3 separate regions of the Homo sapiens genome follow, and regions 1 and 2 are each linked to region 3. The links are contacts of gene promoters, found by promoter capture Hi-C in human tissues and cell types (Jung and others, 2019). All regions are on one chromosome and are shown on one strand. The core of a region is centred on a gene start or on the middle of the fragment in contact, and the rest is flanking DNA. Distances in the headings are between cores, read along the strand shown. Region 1 overlaps PACSIN2 (protein kinase C and casein kinase substrate in neurons 2). Region 2 overlaps PACSIN2 (protein kinase C and casein kinase substrate in neurons 2). Region 3 holds the start of A4GALT (alpha 1,4-galactosyltransferase (P1PK blood group)).

The links. Contacts are between HindIII fragments. The study calls those that stand out against the background at their distance.
Region 1: a fragment that was not itself captured here is called in contact with the fragment with the promoter of A4GALT in region 3 in 1 of the 25 tissues and cell types used here (liver).
Region 2: a contact is called between a fragment that was not itself captured here and the fragment with the promoter of A4GALT in region 3, in 3 of the 25 tissues and cell types used here (heart left ventricle, lymphoblastoid cells and mesenchymal stem cells).

The regions. Positions count from the first base shown.
Region 1 is chr22:42,943,561-42,946,499 of GRCh38, forward strand. The region is part of intron 1 of PACSIN2 (protein kinase C and casein kinase substrate in neurons 2); the gene reads right to left. Among named protein-coding and RNA genes, the nearest start is that of PACSIN2, 70 kb to the right of the region's middle. RefSeq lists a silencer at 1,537-1,616. The HindIII fragment of the contact is 4,336 bases long and covers 1-2,939 here.
Region 2 is chr22:42,883,247-42,886,145 of GRCh38, forward strand. It overlaps PACSIN2 (protein kinase C and casein kinase substrate in neurons 2), which reads right to left. Exons shown (of 11, transcript NM_001184970.3): 6 at 1,140-1,315. Among named protein-coding and RNA genes, the nearest start is that of ARFGAP3, 27 kb to the left of the region's middle. The HindIII fragment of the contact is 5,085 bases long and covers 1-2,899 here.
Region 3 is chr22:42,719,407-42,722,255 of GRCh38, forward strand. It overlaps A4GALT (alpha 1,4-galactosyltransferase (P1PK blood group)), which reads right to left and starts at 1,464. Exons shown (of 3, transcript NM_017436.7): 1 at 1,391-1,464. RefSeq lists silencers at 904-1,033, 1,114-1,343, 1,374-1,563. The HindIII fragment of the contact is 38,593 bases long and covers 1-2,849 here.

The DNA of each region.
Region 1 (2,939 bases), core at 365-2,864, 220 kb after region 3:
TGGTTTGCTGAGTGTTTCTGTCATGAAGAGGTGTTGCTTGGGGTTGGGTGTTTTTTCTTTCTTTTGTTTTGTTTTAATGTTGCAGAACAGGCATCACCAAGGACCTAATTAACTTAGATTAAAACCACCTGACATTATATATTTTGATGAATTTCAAGTGTCATAAGGAGCCAAATAAAATCCATTTTAAGCAACTCAAAGAAAAGCAGCTTATTCTCTGGCTTTGAGAAAAGAAATTTGTGATAATAAGGTATCAGAGGAAAACATGAATGTGTCCAAAACTTACGTTAAACTTTTGCACAATACAATATAGAAAGCAAAGAAAGAAAAAGACACAATTGATAAAAATCTTATTACCTAAAATACATTAAGAGCTGATATGAAGACAGAGGATCCAATTCCACTGGACAAAGAAGTTGCTGGAGAGGAACAAACAGAAGAGGAGATGGCTGGGCAGAGACAGGAATGCTCACTAAGTTCTACCTGCTAAGCCAGACTGTGTTGGTAGTCCTGGCCACATCAGTAGTGAAAAGTCCACACAAAGCCCCCAGCCTCTCCTGTCTACTGTGTTGTCCACTGAGCAGGCCTCGAGTGGCAGCTCTCAGAGAGTGCTGTCTCCTTAATCAGCCTGGCCTGAGGGACTCTGTGGAACCGCACCCCCAGCCATCCTACAAGGGACACACAGATCAAGCGAGAAAGACATTTGTGTTAGGCTAAGTCTCTGAGACTTGGGGTTTGCTTGTTACTGCAATGTAACCTAGCTAAATATAATACAACAAATTCCCATGCAGGAAAAAAAAGCACAACTTCCTTTAAAATATGGAAATAACTTGTAAAATAAGGAAAATTAATATGACAATGCCAGTTTTGGTGGGGCTACAGGAAAACAGAAATGTACTCTAACATTGCTAATAGGCTTCATGGAAAAATCTGAAAATACAGAACAAGGCAGATAACAGTTACCAACCTCTGACCCTTAAGTCCCACTCTGGGGAACATGCCCCAAGCAAATAAACTCAAAGAAAAAATAGCTTGGACAAAATGTTCATCACTGCAATATTTATAACAGCAAAAATTGGAAACGAGTCAGCTGCTCAAAGCTAAGAAAACAATGACGAGTTGACAGAAAGGACACAACACATCCGTTACAGAGAACTAGCAGGTGAGCTATTTTCCATCCGAAATTGGGTATAAGCAAAAAAGGCAGAGTGGCACAGCGCATCCACTACACATCAACTTATAAGGTGAGGACTGTAGCTGGGCGCGGTGGCTCACGCCTATAATCTCAGCACTTTGGGAGGCCAAGATGGGTGGATCACCTGAGGTCAGGAGTTCAAGACCAGCCGGGCCAACACAGTGAAACCCTATGTCTACTAAAAATACAAAAATTAGCCAGGTGTGGTGGTACGCCCCTGTAGTTTCAGCTACTCAGGAGGCTGAGGCAGGAGAATCACTTGAACCTGGGAGGCAGAGGTTGCGGTGAGCCAAGATCATACCACTGTACTCTAGCCTGGACGACAGGGCAAGACTCGTCTCAAAAAAAAAAAAAAAGAGGCAAGGGCTGTGTCATCTCCGTATCCCCAGTGCTTAGCATGAGGTAGATGCTCAAATGAGTCTGCACAGTGACTAGATGTACGCACCGGCAATTACCAAGCTGACAGAAGCAAAATCAGTGGGGGACGAGGGCAAGAGGAGTCTTTGGGGAGGGAGCTGACACTCACCAGCTCATTTCTGTAGTGGCTGCAGTGTGCCTTCTCTCAACCTCCTCTGCCTGTTTCCTGGCTGCTGGCGCTCCCCAGGTTCTGTCCCAGGCCCTCTCTCTTACGTCTTCTGTGCCCACACACCAAACCACCTTTAACCTCAAGCCCCCTGATCTGCTGTCTGGCCCAGACCCGCATCTCTGCCTACTGGATGCCTCCACTTGGCCATCACACAGTCCTTGCAAACTATCCCCTTCCCTATGAGCCCACTCCTGTTCCTGGGTTTTCTACGTCAGAAATGGTCCCACCATTCATTCACCCAGCTTCTCAAGCCAGAAACTCCTCTTCTTCCCACACCCAACCCCCCTCACCACTACCACATTCAATCAGCTTCCAAGACCGGACTACATCAGCTCTTCAATATCTCTTGAATCCTCCCACTTGGCTCTGTCCCCATGATGATAGCTACCTTCGCTAAGGCCACCATTGCCTCCTGCCTAATCCTTAACAACGTCCTAACTAACCTGCAGCCACTTGTTTAGTCCCCGACTCCCTTCATTCTCCATGACATTACTGTGACTCTACCATGGTGGTTGGAATGTCTTCTGGAAAGATCAGGTTTTGCCTCTACTCAAACTCCTCCCCCTACTTCCTCCCGAAGCCAGCAGGGCCTCCAGGCTGTAACTACTGCTCCTCCAGCCTCACCACTCACACCACACTCCTGGCCACACTATACACGCTCTGGCCACCGTTAATCACCTGTGTCTACCAACACAAGCACCACACTCCTATCAGCTCCACCCCTTCACACACACTGTTCCCTCTGAACAAATGCACAAATGAATTAGAGGAGGTGGAGGAGAAATCAACTTCTCATAGCCAAATAGTTTCAAAAGCAAAATAATAAGAATCCTTCCAATTACTTTTATAACATAAAGAAGTGTTTAAACTGCATGTGAGCATAACATACCTAATATAATCCAGGGTAGGGTCTCCAGAAGTATGGGTACCCCAAACCTGCCACAGTCTAAGGGGGAAGTAAGGACAAAGCTAATAAAGCCAAAGGATTTGTCCCTGGGGGCAGGAGTGGAAGCACTCACTGACTGCCACTGCATCCAGGAAGGAGGCACACATTGGCCTCTGAGCCTGGCGAGAGCAGCAATGTACCACGGGCTCACCCACTACTTGGGAGGCTGAGGCACAAGAATCACTTGAACCCAGGTGATGGAGGTTGCAGTG
Region 2 (2,899 bases), core at 223-2,722, 160 kb after region 3:
CACCCAGCCTCAGCTTCCTCATCAATAAGATGGGGTCAGTGCCACCCACTTTACAAGACTATCATAAAAATGGAATGGTGGCAGAGCAGCAGCGGTGCAGTAACTGTTGCTTTTGATGATTGTTACACAGAGGGAGACAAACGGAATGTGTCTCCTATTAACAGCAAGCCTTGACCCGTGACGCATCCCTACACGGTTCTGCTAGATGGATGACAGTAATCCACGTCCTTGACTTAGCTGGGACCTCTGCCCTGGTGAAGGCATCACAGAACCAAAGATGAGGAAAGCACAGAAGAAACAGCACAGCTTCCATATCACAATTCAGAACCAAGTCTCAGAGGGTATGTGCTGTCCTGGGGGCTGAGAGCCACTAAGCAGTCACCTGATCACAAAGGGCCTCAAAGAAAGACTGTCCCAGGCACGACCAGCCCAGAAATGCCAGATTCACCTCCAGTGGATCTTACATATGCCAGCTGCGGCCAGGTGCGGTGGCTCACGCCTGTAATCCCAGCACTTTGGAAGGCCGAGGTGGGCGGATCACAAGGTCAAGAGATCGAGACCATCCTGGACAACATGGTGAAACCCCATCTCTACTAAAAATACAGAAATTAGCTGGGTGTGGTGGCGCATGCCTGTAATCCCAGCTACTCGGGAGGCTGAGGCAGGAGAACTGCTTGAAACCAGAAGGTGGAGGAGGTTGCAGTGAACTGAGATCACGCCACTGCACTCCAGCCTGGGGACAAAGCAAGACTCCGTCTCAAAAAAAAAAAAAGAAAAGAAAAGATATGCCAGCTGCCTTGGTCCTAGCTGTGGCCCCAGAATGGGCAATCTCCATTCCCACCCAGACCTGTACATGGAGTTGGCAGAGTGGGCCCGGCCTTATCTGCTTGGGCCAGCAATTGGCCGGGTCAACCAGGCCTTCCAGAGGTCCAGCCGGCCATGCCTGCAGCTGCAGAAACACTCAGCAGAGGGGCCCTCCCTGCCATCCAGATTACAAAGAAGCAGGAGGCCCTGAGGGCGGTGAGGAGACCTCCTGATGAACGCGCCATCCCAAACCTGGGAGCAGCATCTGAGTTTGCTTCAAAAGCACTTTCCGTTGACTTCAATGACGTGTGTGTTTTAGCTCAAAGGAAACTTACCCAGCCACATTGGACAGGTCTAGGTGCTTCTGAACCTCCAGCAGAACCTCCCGGAAGAAGCGAAGGCGTTTCTCCTCGAACTGCTGGCACTGCTCAAACACCTGCTCCATGTTCTCCATGTACTGGGGTGTGCCCTGGTCGAGTTCCTTCAGGGACTTCTCATACTTCTCTTTGGTCTAAAGGAAAATCCAGGCACAAGACAGAGGTTCATTTCCATTTAGCCCTTGGCTCACCCTGCCCCTGGAGTGTCTCAGGCCTTCCCAGATTCCAAATGCAAAGAAAAAACAGGAGCTCTGGATTCTGACAGACTTCAAGTTCAAGTCCCAGTTCCTCCACTCCTGCAAGGTGAATCACACTCCTGCCATCTGCCCTGTCTCTCAGCTGGAGCAAGGCCCAGACAGGTAGATGCCGGCAAAGGGCAGTCTCCCCAGAACTCAGTGTGTATGGTCTTGAGCGTGCCACACGCCCATGTCCTCTTCTCCCTGTGGGGAAGGGCTGTGCCTGGCTACCCTCAAGCCTCAGATCTGGCCCACAGCAAAGGTGGGGCTGGGGCTGAATCCTGCAGCTCTCTTGGAGCCTCACTGTCCTTTATCAGATGAGGACATCTCTCCTTCACAGTGTTCTGATATGTACATGATGGGGTGCAGGAAGAAGGCATTCAAAAAAAGTCCTCCTTCTCTTGTCTTTCAGCCCACTCCATCCCCCTCACACAGCTGCTCCCTCCCAGATTGTCCCAAGAAGGGGTTTTACAAGGCAGGAAATGTTAAAAAGCAGGTGTGGCCTATCTCAAGAATATCCAGGGGCAGCTAGAAAACGTGTGAAATTCCTAAGACATGGCTAAAGTGGGCACATTCATCTGGTGGGGATGTGCCTCGAGGTCAATGACCTCACACTGGTACACACTTCCCCGCACCCCCTCATCTCAGCATGCAGGGCCACCAGTTTGGTGGCCAGGTGGTTTTGTTAGTTGGTGGGATCATGGTCGTGTTGTCCCCCTGGGGTGGGTGAGAGATAGCAGGGCTGGGGCCACCTATTTATTGCAATTCTTTCTACTATGGGGGTAGTCACGGGCTCCACTCAGGTCTAAGCTTTGCTGTCCCTAACAACATGTGCAGGGCCTTCTGAGGAAGGATGGAGCGCTTCCCGAGACACTGCAGGCCTATCGGGCACCCTCTCTGCCCCCAGCTGGGACTGAGTCTACCCTGCCCATGCGGCTCCCCTCCCAGATGCTCTCCTCTGACTCACGTGGCTCAGAGCCCTGGGAGACTCTGCTTCAGGCTCCAAAGCAACTCCTCTTCTTGAAGCCTTCCCCAGCCTCGTGAGACCAGGTTCCACCCCGCCCTCTAGGGCCCTGACTCCTGCCCCTTTCTCCTCTCCTGGTATCCGGGTCCTTGCTCTGCTTCTCAGCCTCCTAAGATGGCTGGGCTTGGGTCCTCTGTGCCAGGAAAAGGCCACCCCTGCCAGGGCTGGGGCATGCCCAGCAGAGAAAGAGCTCCACAGCGCTGTGGCTATTCCCCTATTCCCCACAGCCATCCACACTGCCCGTGCCCACTACCTGGCAGCCCTGCATGGGAGCCTAGCTCAGAAGCCCAAGACACATAGCTGTGGGTTCAGCGCCCAGCATCTGGAGGATACTGCTGAAGTGACACAGAGCAGCCCCATCTCAGGAGCCTTCAAGACACAATAGCCTCCCGGGAGCTCTCAGGGTACTCAGTGGCAACAAGATGCTCCACCTCTGGGCTGCCCCTGCCCTCAGCCTG
Region 3 (2,849 bases), core at 214-2,713:
GAGCTGCCACAGCATTCCAGCCTGGGTGACAGAGGGAGACCCTAAAAAACAAACAAACAGAAAACTAATGACAGAGAGGATTCCATCTCTCCTCTTCCTTTCTTTTCCTTTCTATTTTGTTTTCCTTTGTATTCCTTTGATTTGGGGACCCTCTTTTGGGGGGTTGCAGCTATGGAAACACAGTGTAGCAGGGTTTCGGGTCCTGGAGAAGGTTTGAGGCTGGAAGAGGGCTGTGGGAAATCTTGAGGGAGGCCTGGCTCCATCCGCACTCTGCTATGGGACCCTGGGCAGGGTGGCTCCCTCATTCTTTGGGAGGAGGTGACAAAGGGGAAGTCTTTGGGCAGCTGGTGGCGGGAACGGGAAGGCCAGACCTGGCCTGAGACCCACCAGGTGCTCGGGGTTATTTGCTGAGTGCAGGGTACGTGACCCCAAGGGGCCTTCGCGGAACAATCACTCGACGTTGGCGGAGGGGAGGAAGCCGCAGAGAGGGTGTCGTGAGGGAAAGGTGGGTGCAGGGGAAATGGCGCTTTAACCCACTCAGGGCCAGAGGCTCAGCCGAGACTATCCAGGTGGGAACTTGTCCCTCCGGATGACAGGTGATGAAACTGAGGGAAGGGGACTCGCCCTGGCAGTGAAACGGGATGGGCGCTGGGACCAGGTGCCCCGGCAGATCCTCTCCCAAGCCCAGTTCCGCTCCCGCTCAGTCCTCAACCTTCCCCAGCTGGAGAGGAGGGAGGGGCGCCTGCGGATCCGAGGCGAGCGCGGAGGCCGGGCGACTCCAACCGGCTCGCCCCGTGCCCAGCTCGTACCCAGGCCGTTTCCCGCACGGGGAGGGCCCTTCCCGCTTCTGGGCAGGTCCAAATCCTCACCCTCCCTAAGGCCGGCGCCGACGCTGCCAGCCCGGCAGAGCCCCCTCCTGCCGGCCGCTCTCCATCCCCGTCCCCGGTCGCATCCGCTCCGGGGCGAGCACCGCCCGACGCCCAGGCTTCCCCCGGACGGAGGAGCGCGACTCACCCACGGTGGCCGGGCAGAGCCTGCCTCGAACCCGGCTTCTCCCCGACGCCCTCTCTCCAGCCCCGGGACCCAACCGGGTGGGGCTGCCCTCGAGGGCTCCGGAGCCAGGCGCGTCCTGCCCGCGAGGGCCGGGGCTCCGGGTCCCGCCGCCGCGCTCCACTTCGGGGCGCAGTTGGGGTGGAGGCGGTGGCCGGGACCGCCGCGCGGGGTTCGTGCGCGCACAAATGTCGCCTCCAGAACAGGTGGCCCGGGCTAGGGCGGCGGCCCAGCCCCTCCGCCCCTGCCCCTGCCTTCCCGAGGCGCCTCCTCCCCACTGCGAGCCGCAGGATCCCCCTGGAGCCCCCGTCCCCCGCAACATCGGCGCGGCCCCTCGTACCTCTAGCTCCAGCGGCGGCGGGCGGCGGACAGCGGGGCCCCGGCGGGCGGGCGGCGCGGCGGCCGGAGGGCAGTGCCTGGGGCCCGGCGGGAGGCAGCACCGCCCCTCCGGCCCGGGGCGGGGTCAGGCCGCCCCGCCCCGCCCGTCCCGACCTACCCTGCGGGTCCCGGTCCCCAGAGCCCTTGCGGGGTCCCCGCGACCCCGCCCGCGCGCCCTCGCTGCTCCCCGGGGCGGGTGCGGACAGTCCCCAGTCCGCCGGCCAACAGGTAGGGAGCGCTCCCCGGCCTCCGCGCCGCCAGTATTACGGGTTACCATCCCGTTTTCCCCATTGAACTGATGAGAAAACTGAGGTTCAGAGGGTTGAGTACCTCGATATTCTGCAGTGGAGAAGGGACGCTGTCACCCCTGGGACCCGGGTCGGCCTGATCCCACCGCCTCCTGCCGGGACCGTGCTAAGGGCATTGCCTGCATCACCCCAGTGTTTGCGGAATTCCAGTTATTTGCTGTATCCTTAACGCCGCCCCGTCCTTTCTCTACTCCTCCTCCTCACTCTCACCTCGCCCCATCTTCACACATATTGCTATTGGTAATTTGTTCAATGTGAGAAATTGGAATGTATCACACACAATTCGTGTATCATAAAACTGTATTTTATTCTCTTTGGAACATGCCATGTTTCCAGCATGTCACAGTCCTGGTGCTTTTAGTTCTTACTCCTCTGGGACAACAAAGACTGCAAAAAATGAAACCATTGGGTGACTTCTTGAGTGCTGACGCCCATCCTCTCACTCAGCTGATGACCCAGTGCCCAAGCCACTGAGAAAATGGAACCTCTATCCTAGCCCTGAGAAAGAGCCTGGCACTCAATGGGTGCCCAATAAATACACTTCGAATGAAGGAATCAGTAGAAAATTCCCACCAGCTCCCCCACCCACCCGCTGAGGTAGCACCCAGTCCCTTCCCTCTTGGGACCGGGCTGAACCCGTCCAGCTCCTGGCCACGACCACCCCCTCCAGAAGATCCCGACCCTTCACGCCAACACTGATCCCGAAACCCTGCCCTCTCTCCATTCTCCCTGGGTCATTCCCATCACAGGCTGTTACTTCTCCCATCTTAAAACGGAAACAAGAGGCCAGGCAAGCACTCACGCCTGTAATCCCAGCACTTTGGGAGGCCAAAGCAAGCAGGTCACCTGAGATCAGAAGTTCAAGACCAGCCTGGCCAACATGGTGAAACTCCATCTCTACAAAATACAAAAATTAGCTGGACATGCTCACTTGAACCCAGGAGGTGGAGGTTGCAGTGAGCCTAGATCATGCCACTGCACTCCAGCCTGGGTGACAAGAGCCAGACTCTGTCTCAAAAAAAAAAAAAAAAAAAAAAAAAAAAAGAATGAATGCGGACCCTTTCTCCACTGGTAATACTCATTTTTTTTTTTTTTTTTTTTTTTTTTTGAGAA